Regions from separate parts of the Homo sapiens genome. Here region 2 is linked to region 1. The links are contacts of gene promoters, found by promoter capture Hi-C in blood cells and fetal thymus (Javierre and others, 2016). All regions are on one chromosome and are shown on one strand. The core of a region is centred on a gene start or on the middle of the fragment in contact, and the rest is flanking DNA. Distances in the headings are between cores, read along the strand shown. Region 1 holds the start of KIF16B (kinesin family member 16B). Region 2 overlaps ESF1 (ESF1 nucleolar pre-rRNA processing protein).

Region 1 (5,346 bases), core at 2,847-5,346:
CAATTTTATTCCTCAGAGGCTAGGATGAAGAAAAAGCACAGCTCATGAGAAATACAGTATTTTTCTTCTGATAACAGTATTCCCTGATGATTCAAATATTTTGCGGTGGAGTGAACATTCTATTACAGTGCTATTTTGCGTGGAAATGAAGAAGCTAAGACTCAGAGAGCTTAAGTCACTCAAAAGTTTTCGTCCATTAAAAAAGTTTTCAAAATAGAGATTAAAAAAAGATTTGAAAAAACGTTTTAAAAAAGAGATTGCTAAACATCAGAAAAAAATTTCAATAATAAATGAAGACCAAAATAAACTACATCAAAACAAACTAAACAACCACATCCCCCACCCCACAGTCCCGCCATGCACATATGCATCTTGAGACCATTTGGGTTTTAACCCAGATTTCAGAATTTTCTCTTCTCCTTCCCATCACAATTCAACCTTCTTAGAAAATAAAAATGTCGGCCGGGCTTGGTGGCTCACGCCTGTAATCCCAGCACCTTGGGAGGCAGAGGTGGGTGGATCACGAGGTCAGGAGTTCGAGATCAGCCTGTCCAACATGGTGAAACCCCCCATCTCTACTAAAAATACAAAAATTAGCCGGGCTTGGTGGTGGGCACCTGTAATCCCAGCTACTCAGGAGGCTGAGGCAGGAGAATCGCTTGAAACCGGAAGGTGGAGGTTGCAGTGAGCCGAGATCGCGCCACTGCACTCCAGCCTGGGCAACAAGAGCAAAACTCTGTCTCAAAAAAAAAAAAAAAAAAAAAAAAAAAAAAAAATATATATATATATATATATATATATATATATACACACATATATATGTATATATACACAATAAAAATAAAAATGTCTTTTATCCATCCAATTGAATTTTAAAATCATAGATTCTTAAACCTTTTTTATGCCGTGGACCCTTTTGGTTGTTTGGTGAGAGTAACATTTTCAGAATAACATTTTAAAATGCATAAAATAAAATAAATGGGATTACCAGGAAAATCAATTATACTGAACTATAACTATTAAAATGTTAGAAATAAATGTGATCTTAAGGTAGGTTTGTTATTTAGTGGCTCTCTTGAGTACCCACCCCTCCTTTGCGGGGCCCTCCCACATTGCCTGGGCGTGACCATGTGACTGCCTTTGGTCAATGGAAGTCCAGCAAAGGCTTGTGCATAGTGCGGTGCTCTCCTGGCGAGGTGTCTCGCCGCCGCAAGAAATCTGGAACCTGGTCTAAACTTTTTGAGGATGAAAAAGCAAAATGCACCAACTTTTCCTCACCCCAGGTGAGCCTAGAGCCCAGCCACAAAGCCCGGGTGACACCAGCAACCCAAAGAATTGAGAGAAATAATAACCGGTTTTTGTTTTAAGCCTCCACATTTTTGGCCATTATTTTTATGCATCAGTACATAACTGATTTGGATCCCTGAATTCTTACTGACCTTTTGGGCCCTGGATTTACTGCTTTTTTTTTTTTTTGAGATTGGGTCTCACTCTGTCACTCAGGTTGGAGTACAGTGGTGCGATCTTGGCTCACTGCAACCTCCTCCTTCCATGCTCAAGCGATTGTCCCACCTGAGCCTCCTGAGTAGCTGGGACTACAAGCACACGCCACCATGCGTGGCTTTTATTTTTGTTTGTTTTATTTTGTCGTAGAGACAGGGTTTTACCGTGTTGCCCAGGCTGGTCTCAAACTCCTGAGTTCTGGCAATCCATCCTCCTCGGCCTCCCAAAGTGCTGGGATTACAGGCATTAGCCACCGTGCCCGGCCTAGAGCTTCTGTAACTGTTTTTCACTATCAGTTATTTTAAGCTCTCACAGTTTGCGTAGAGGTCATCTATCCCCTGGCTCCTTGCAGGGAGGGTGGCAGCCGACAGCATCTTCACTCCCCGAACGTGCTGGAAATGCCATGTCTCAGGCTTCCCCTCTGACTTGCCCATTAGAAGCTGCAGTTTCACAAGACCGCCAGGTGATTCCTTTAAACATTCAAGTTTGCAAAACACTTTAAAGCAGGCACACTAAAGTCTGAGATGAGCAAACCCCTTATCTTATAATAATCTTCCCTTTCAGAAACTTCCTTCACGCCCCAATAGAAATATTTTCTGCTAAGAAAGTGCCCGTTCCGTATCGTCTGTGATGATCAAGCCTTACTGCTTCCTATTGAAAAGCTCCAGGCATGCTGTTTGTTGTCTAAAGCGTCTGCCGGGCTGCGATGGTCCGTTTTGTGTCAGACAGCAAAGTCGTGGATGGAAAGGGGGCTTATAAACACGTGTAGGTTGTTGGAATTACATTAACGAATGAATGAGCAAAACCTTCTAAACCACCGACCAATGAAACCCCGATACAGAAAATCGCTGTCATGAGTAAGTTAGCACTCCTGAAGAGTTTGAATACTGAACTGGCCAGAGTCTGCGCGCCGACGCCCCCCAGGTGGCCGGAGTGACCCGGAGCAGGCGTGGCTGTCTCTCAGACCCGCGCGTTGGGCCCGAACAGTTTGTCCCCACGCAGCTCCCATATAAGGCGGGCCCCTCCCCTGCCCCAGCCAGCTAGGTCGCCGCGCTGGCTCCCTGGCGGCTTCTCAAACCAACCCGCCGCTACTGCGCATGCTTGGCAAGCTCGCCCGCTCCTTAATATCCTGCTCCGGCTGTTCCTGCCACCCGTTGGTCAAATTCGCACCCAGCTCTGCTCCAGACAGAGGGAAAACCCAGTGATTTCCGGGCTCTAGAAACAAAGGGAGGCTATGATTCCCTGCTGGCCCTAGGGGTCCAGGGAAGGTTATGGAAAGATAATTCTTTGTGTAAGCGGGTTGCGTACTTGCAGACATCATCCCACTTGATGCATTCACCACTCTATGCCGTTGTTCCTGATTTGCAGATGAGACAAGAAGCCTCAGAGGCGCCCAGTAATTCAGAATTACAGGCTGACAAGGCTAGTGTTGGAGCTAGGACTTAAAAACAGGAGTTCCGCCTCCATTCCTTGCGTCTCCCATTATAGCTTGGCTTCCTGGAATGGCTGCTCCTGTGGCTCGCAGGTGGGCTTCTGGGTGTGCGCAAACGATTTCATGCATGCTCGATTCACTGAATGAATGAATGCATTTACCTTCTACACAGGAAGGGAGGTGGAGCTCACTTCTACCAGAGGCCCTAAGCCTTAAGATACCAGTTGTCGGCCTGGCGCGGTGGCTCACGCCTGTAATCCCAGCATTCTGGGAGGCCAAGGCGGGCGGATCATTTGAGGTCAGGAGTTCGAGACCAACCTGGCCAACATGGTGAAACCCCGTCTCTACTAAAAATACAAAAATCAGCCGGGCGTGGTGGCACGCCCAGCTATTCGGGAGGCTGAGGCAGGAGAATCTCTTGAACCCGGGAGGCGGACGTTGCAGTGAGCCGAGATCGCAGCATTACACTCCAGCCTGGGTGACCGAGCGAGACCCTGTCTCAAAAAAAAAAAAAAAAAAAAAAAAATACCAGTTGTGTTCGCCTTTAACTCCCTTATGATTAAAACTAAAAATTACTAAAGTGTACAAAAGTGCAAAACAAGTCTAAATAAGGTTTGATTCTAGCCAATATAATGACATTCCCGCACACATTTAAAACATCCAACACCCTATTAATTTTCGTTTATCGGTATCCCGAGTTAAGGGGTCCAAAACATACGGTCGGACCTCCTTAGGGTAGCAGAGAAGGCCCTAGCGGAGTTTGCCACCAACAAGCTGTGATCATCTCTGCGCCTCAGTTTGTTCGTGTGTAAAATGGATACGTTAACTCATGTTTGGCTGGGTGAAGCCAGGTTCTTGTTAAGGGCTGAAAAACTGGCTTTGGTCACCTGACCCCAGGACTGTGATCCTTGCCGCTGGCTTTAAATTGCTGCGATCCTCTTCTCTCCAGTTGTTCAGGCCATGAGGGTGGGTTCTAGTTTTCCTGAAACCATCCGCTCCGGGTCGCCCCCATAACCTCTGCGCCAAGGTCCACAACGTGGCCTTTCCAGACTTGCAGATCCCGGAGGCTGCTTCCAGGCCCCGCGGCCCCGCCCCTCTGCACCGCCCGGCCGCCGCCAAACCGTGGCGCATGGATCACGCGGGCCGGAGCCGTTCTGGGCATGCTCAGTGGCCTGGCAGGTGGGGCTGCCGCGGAACTCCAGGTCCGGCCGGGAGCAGAGGGGCGGGGGCGAGAGGGAAGTGGGCGGGAGCCGCGATCTGAGTAGCCAGCGTCGCCGGCGACCGCGGAGTTCTGGGCTAGTGGGACCCCGCGCGGGCTGGTTCGGGATGAGCGATGGCATCGGTCAAGGTGGCCGTGAGGGTCCGGCCCATGAATCGCAGGTGAGTGGGGCCGCCCGCGCCCCGCCCCCTCGTCGCGCCCCCACCCAGAGGAAGCCTGTTTCCAGCTCCCCCAAAGCCAGCCTGGACTTAAAAGTGTCACCGGCTGGTCCCTGGCCCACCGGGCCCAGGCTGTGGCCTCTGGGGGCCTGGAGGACTTCGTGCACTGCTGTCCCGTTCACATTGCCCTGGAGAGGACCCTGGTGGTAAAGGAGAAGATTCTATTAACTCTCTCCATCGTATTAACTTGAGATGTTCTTGTTCCCCCTTTAAAAAAGCATCAAGGGAACGTTACCATGAAGATGTAAAATAGTTGGGGGGAAGGTGAGAGTGCTGAGGGGGGGCACCACGAACTGTCAGGTGAACCCCTCATTTCTACCAACTCAGAAGTTCTCTTAACAATTAACCATGCTACTTTTTAATCTTTCAGTTAGAGATGATTTTGATTCCCTGAATGTCTAATCGATAACTTAGCAGTTCCTAACTTCATGTTAGAGAGTGGATGGGAAAACTTTGACAAAGTCCTGACTCCTAGAAAAAAGTCAGGGACGCTTTACACGTGTTTGAAATACTCTGATATTAAGAGAGAGGAAGAGTGTTACACACAAAATTTAATCTTGTTATATATTTCTACGAAGTAATGCTTTTTCAGAATCCTTCTCTTCATTCACTGAAAAATAGCCTGTGCTCCCTTTTCAATGACCTCTTTTTAATCCGTTTAGAAAGTTTCTTTGGAAAAGTTACTTTTTAAATTGGTTTGACTTCAAAGAATGAGGTAGAAATGGGATGTGTCCTCCAAGGTGACAGGCAAGGTTCACACAGAGCCATTTGATTTTATTGACTTCTCTACCAAGTTGGTGGATATTTGACTTACCATAGGGCCTTTTTGCTTTTGTCATATCAACTTGTGGAGGTTAATGTTTGGTAGTTCTGATGCCTGATTGGGGCAGCCGAAGGCCATAAAATCAAAAGATTTCCAGAACCTTATTTGACTCATCTAAATCTGTTTCTTCTCTTGGCAAGTAGGGAATCAT
Region 2 (5,346 bases), core at 2,847-5,346, 2.8 Mb after region 1:
GTCAGAACCATAATACAAAATGCAATAATAGTAAGTGCCGTAAAAGATGTTTAGCAGAAAGCCATGGAAATCTGGAGGAAGAAGTCACTCAAGATGTGGTAATCAGAAAAATTCATAGGGGACGCACTACTTTGGGGTGTGGAAAAATTTAAGTTTGAGGACCAGAGTGTGCTACATGGAAAGAACTTTTTGAGCAAAGATGTGATTGGGCATGTTCAGAAGAGGTCAGTAGTCCCGTTTGATTAGATAATAAGGTCTTGAAGGGCCAAAATGAGTAGCAGCGAGAAATGATTGTTTGGAACTAGGTGAGAGACAGCTGGCTCTAGTTTGCATTACGTGTTTACTAATTAAAATTTTTTGTCACCTCCAGCAGCAAGCAATTTTGAGTGTTGATGTTGCTGATAGTTGAAGATGTAACTGAAAACCAGTAGTAGTTCACATGAGCCAGACCTGTGATTACAGGATCCAAGGAGGGGTCTTGATAGGCCGAGAGGTCTTGATAGGCCAAGAGGTCTTGATAGCCCAAGAGTTCTTGATAGGCCAAGAGGTTTTGATAGGCCAAGAGGTCTTGATAAGCAGAGATCACACTGTGAGGGTAGAAGGTATCAGGCAGTGGAGTGAATTCTGGATAGCAAGGACTAGGGAGTCAGTGGTGGTATCCCATTTTACATTTGTAGTGGAACCAGGCAGCAGACCTCTTGAGGTGTGGGAAGAAAGGATAGGAATCCGGTTACTAAAATTGAAGAATAAGATTGGAGTGGGACCGGCAGCAAAGTTGATTTGACACTGAATTAGTGAGGTAAGTTAGTCTAGCATCCACTTCATTTGGGGCACTGAATTAATATAACATAGCTATATAATCCTTTAGATTGATTTTACAGACTTTTTTACATATCTTTTCTCATTTAATTTTCTTAGTTACCTTGAGCAATAAGACTGTATCAGCGAACAAGATTAAAGTGACTTATGTAAGGACATGCAGACCTGGAACTGCAACTCAAGTCTTCTGACTCCTTCTACCCCACCACATTGCTTGCAGTAATTTTGTTGGTTCCACAGTCTAGGAAAGGCATTACTCATAAATAAGGATTACACGGCTCCATATATAATCTTCTGTTCATTATCCATTCATCAGTTATTACAGCAATTACTGTGTGCAAGGGCCTTTTTAAGTGCTGTGAAGTAAAGGTGATGTGAGGACTTGCAGTGTGATATTTGTCATCATGAAATGTTCATGCCCAGCACTTGCACTCCTCAGAATCTATTTTACATAAATAATTGGATGTGTGCAAAGAATGTGCATTGCAGCATTATTTTTAAAATAAAACGGTAACTGGCTGGGCACAGTGGCTCACCTTTATAATCCCAGCACTTTGGGAGACCGAGGCGGGTGGATTGCTTGAGGTCAGGAGTTTGAGACCAGCCTAGCCAACATGGCAAAACCCGGTCTCTACTAAAAATACAAAAATTAGCTGGGCATAGTGGTGCACACCTGTAATCCCAGCTACTTGGGAGGCTGAGGCACGAGAATCACTTGAACCCAGGAGGTAGAGGTTGCAGTGAGCCAAGATCGTGCCACTGCACTCCAGCCTGGGCAACAGAGCAAGACCTTGTCTCAAAAAATGAAAATAGAAATTAAAATGGTAACAAATCATTAAGAGATTAATTAAATATATGCAAACATCTGTGATCTATGAAGTTTTAAAAATAGGTTCCAAAATAACGATATGACCAGTTATTTTAAACAAATTAGTATTTAAATTAAAGAAAAGAAATTTAGGGATATGGTTGTATACTAAAATAACCAGTTATCTTTGAATGAAAAATTACTGCTAGTCACCTTTGTTTTATTTATTAACCATATTTTCCTAACTTTTTTTGGTTTGTAATGATCATTCATTATGTTTATAATTGGGGGAAAATGGTAAAGCAGTTTTTTTGGTTTTTTTTTGTTTTTTGTTTGAAGTAGCTGGATAAGTAGTAATGTTTACAGTCACTACTAGAGCAATACTGTCTAGGAATAGAGACATTTATATTTGTGTAACCCCACATTATCTTGCACAAGGCTGTGTACATTGTGGGCTCTAAGCAGATACTTTTTGGGGTTTTTTATTTTTATTTTTGGAGACAGGGTCTCGCTCTGCTGCCCAGGCTGGAGTGCAGTGGTGCAATCACAGCTCACTGCAGCCGCAACTTCCTGGGCCCAGGTGATTCTCCCACCTCAGCCTTCCGAGTCACTGGGACCACAGGTGCACCCCACCATGCCTAGCTAATTTTTGTATTTTTGTAGAGACAAAGAGTTTTGCCATGTTGCCCAGGCTTGTCTCAAACTCCTGGGCTCAAGATCCTCCCATCTTGGCCTCCTAATATGATGGGATTACAGGCGTGAGCAGCTGTGCTCGGCTGCAGATACTTATTGAATGAATAAATACTCTGAATGCAGTTGATATTGTTAAAAACATTGAAATGGAAGACCTCTTTAAGTCTCTTATGCAACACTTTATTATTATATAACCCAAAGTGTGGTATGTGTACCATTGTCATAAGTGAGAAGATTTTTGATGATACTCAAACTTCTAAAATATTAATAGTTATGTACTGTGTCAACATCTTAGAAAACAATGTAATTACCCTATCACTTCTGTGACTTTAGGAATATTGTTTAGAGCAAAACTAACTTTTAAAAAATTCAATTTAATAAAAAAATGATATTCAAAAATCATGAAAATGGTATAATGACTGACAGTTGAGAAATATTGCAATACTAGATAGACTGGGTCTGTAAGATGTTATTTCTAAGCTTGTTGCTTAAAAGTAAATTCTGCTTACCTCATAGTAACTTTCAATGTTGTGTTTTTCAGATCTCATATATAGAACCTGTGACAATGCTTTCATTTTGGCGCTTTTCACTTCTATTGGCTAGTTATTTTTATTAATCCCTGCTTCGTTGTGGTGGTAACATAAAAGCCCATTTCCTGCTTTTCCTTCTAACAAGATGCCTTTTCATTCAGTTAGTCTCAAGTCAAGTTGTATCTTTGTGAAGCCTTTTTATAAATACCTCTCTGCAGGCAAATTTAGATGTCTCTCACTGTATGGTGATTGAGAACATAGATTTATAAATCAGTAAATGGTTACCTTTTATTTATGAATCCATCAAGAGCATGAGATCGTGTTACAAATCTTCTCTCTTTTCCCTTATCCTAGCTCAATTCTTTGTATGTAGTAGATACTCAGTAAATATTTGGTCAGTGAATAACTATTATAAGATTATAGGACCAAGAGAAAATTAGTTCCAATTTCATTCTAAATCTTGAACTTTTAAATTTGCTTTTAATTTTCCAAACTTAGAGCCTGTAAGCAGAAAATAAGCTCCAACTTAAAGATGAGTAAAACACGTAAGATATATCTACACACCAAGTAGATAGAAGCCTGTGATTGCTTTAGAAGTAGGAAATGAGCCCTTTCAGAGTTGTGAGGACTAAAATTTCCATCTTAAGCAAAAACAGTCTTTCAATCTTGGTGTATTGCTAATCATGACAGTTGATTACAAAGTTCAAGACCTGGCAGAAAAAGTATAAATATTATTTCTCTGTCTTTATAGGTGATCTCATCCACATCACAGCTTCTGTTGTCAACTGCGTATGAATGAGTCACTGATCTCCAACCCAGACTTCTCTGAGCTGTACACTCTTATTATTGATACTTTCTTTTAGATGACTGAGTGGCACTTCGTATTCAACATATTCAAAACTGAACTCATGATTTCCCTCCACCAAACAAACTAGTTCATTTCCAGTGTTCCCTTTTCATCTTTCCATCTTCTTAGCTAACTAGCTCTGAAAGCTAAGAAGCTATGACTCATCTTTGACACTTCCAAAACTCCCAGTCCCCGTGTCAAATCTCCAGTCGGTAATTATTGGTTTCACTTCCTGACTGACTCTGAAATCCATGTACATCTCTGCATACATACTGCCACCCAACTTAGTGCTACCTTCATTTCTTGCTTTTTGTACTGTACTACCTTTACTATATTCACATCTGTTCTTTACTTTCCCAAGTCAGTTTTCTACAGTATAGTCAAGGTGATCTCCTCAATATGCAAGTCTGAGGATGACAATATCCAAAAGAAGATGACATCCTCTTTTTTGAAAACAGCAGTGTCTTCCCATTGCTTTTATGAAAAAGTCCAAGCTCTCTATATGGTTTTTTGATAGCTTGGCCTCTACTTAACTCTTCATTTCCATTTGTTACTTGATTCTGTGCTATCTGTGATCTGGACATGATGGTTGGCTTTTTCCTATTGGCAGATTTTTACAGGTACCTTCCTTGCTCTTTCAAACAAATTTCCATCTATTAGTCTAACTTTGACTATTTAACTCCTGTTCATCCTTCAAGTAACAGCTCAGTTATCACTCACTTAGGGACCCCATTAAATCCCCTTAGAAAACATTCTTTCTGGGATATCTTAGTTGTGATTTTAACTTTTCCTATATATTGATTTTATTTGATATCCATGTATTCTTTTCACTCAGCTAGAAGTTTCACTGAGAGCACTGTTTGCTTCTCTTTTACCAACTGTTGTATATTGAGCACTTAGCACGTAGCAGGCACACTGTTAAGTATTGAATGAATGTCTGGATCTACTTGCGTGATGTGAGCATGTGTTAGGATTTCCATTAAATAACTTGGTTAAGTGTATTTTCCTTTACTCTGTTTCATAGAAGTTATGGTTAGGATTTCTATCATAAAAATTGACTAAGCATTTACTGAATATATATTTGTCTTTACTGTGTTTCATAGAAATTATATTTTTACTGGAGTTGATGTCAAGATAATTTGGATTCAGTTTAATTCAGCATATATCTTTTCTTAATTTCTTTCCCCTTTAACATTTTGCAGTGGTTCAACTCATAATGACAAGAGACAGTGATGGTTATGAAAACTCAACAGATGGTGAAATGTGTGACAAAGATGCTCTGGAGGAAGATTCAGAAAGCGTTAGTGAAATAGGAAGTGATGAGGAATCTGAAAATGAAATTACAAGTGTTGGTAGAGCTTCAGGTGATGACGATGGAAGTGAAGATGATGAAGAGGAGGATGAAGATGAAGAGGAGGATGAAGATGAGGATAGTGAGGATGATGATAAAAGTGACAGTGGCCCTGATCTTGCAAGGGGTAAAGGAAATATAGAAACTAGTTCTGAAGATGAAGATGATACGGCAGATTTGTTTCCAGAAGAATCTGGTTTTGAGCATGCTTGGAGAGAATTAGATAAAGATGCTCCTCGTGCTGATGAGGTAACCTTTTGAATAAACAAGATTATTTGTGAAAAACACAGTACAAGCA

The links. Contacts are between HindIII fragments. The CHiCAGO score rates a contact against its expected background, and 5 or more counts as called.
Region 2: a contact is called between a fragment that was not itself captured here and the fragment with the promoter of KIF16B in region 1, in 1 of 17 cell types (total CD4 T cells). The highest score is 5.3, in total CD4 T cells.

Annotation. Positions count from the first base shown.
Region 1 is chr20:16,572,198-16,577,543 of GRCh38, reverse strand. It overlaps KIF16B (kinesin family member 16B), which reads left to right and starts at 4,096. Exons shown (of 26, transcript NM_024704.5): 1 at 4,096-4,315. The coding sequence starts at 4,269. LOC124904875 (a long non-coding RNA gene) reads right to left here and starts at 2,241. Exons shown (of 2, transcript XR_007067539.1): 1 at 1,817-2,241. RefSeq lists silencers at 4,060-4,189, 3,976-4,205 and an enhancer at 3,818-4,339. The HindIII fragment of the contact is 9,174 bases long and covers 1-5,346 here.
Region 2 is chr20:13,775,824-13,781,169 of GRCh38, reverse strand. It overlaps ESF1 (ESF1 nucleolar pre-rRNA processing protein), which reads left to right. Exons shown (of 14, transcript NM_001276380.2): 3 at 4,900-5,297. Among named protein-coding and RNA genes, the nearest start is that of ESF1, 6.4 kb to the left of the region's middle. The HindIII fragment of the contact is 2,588 bases long and covers 2,803-5,346 here.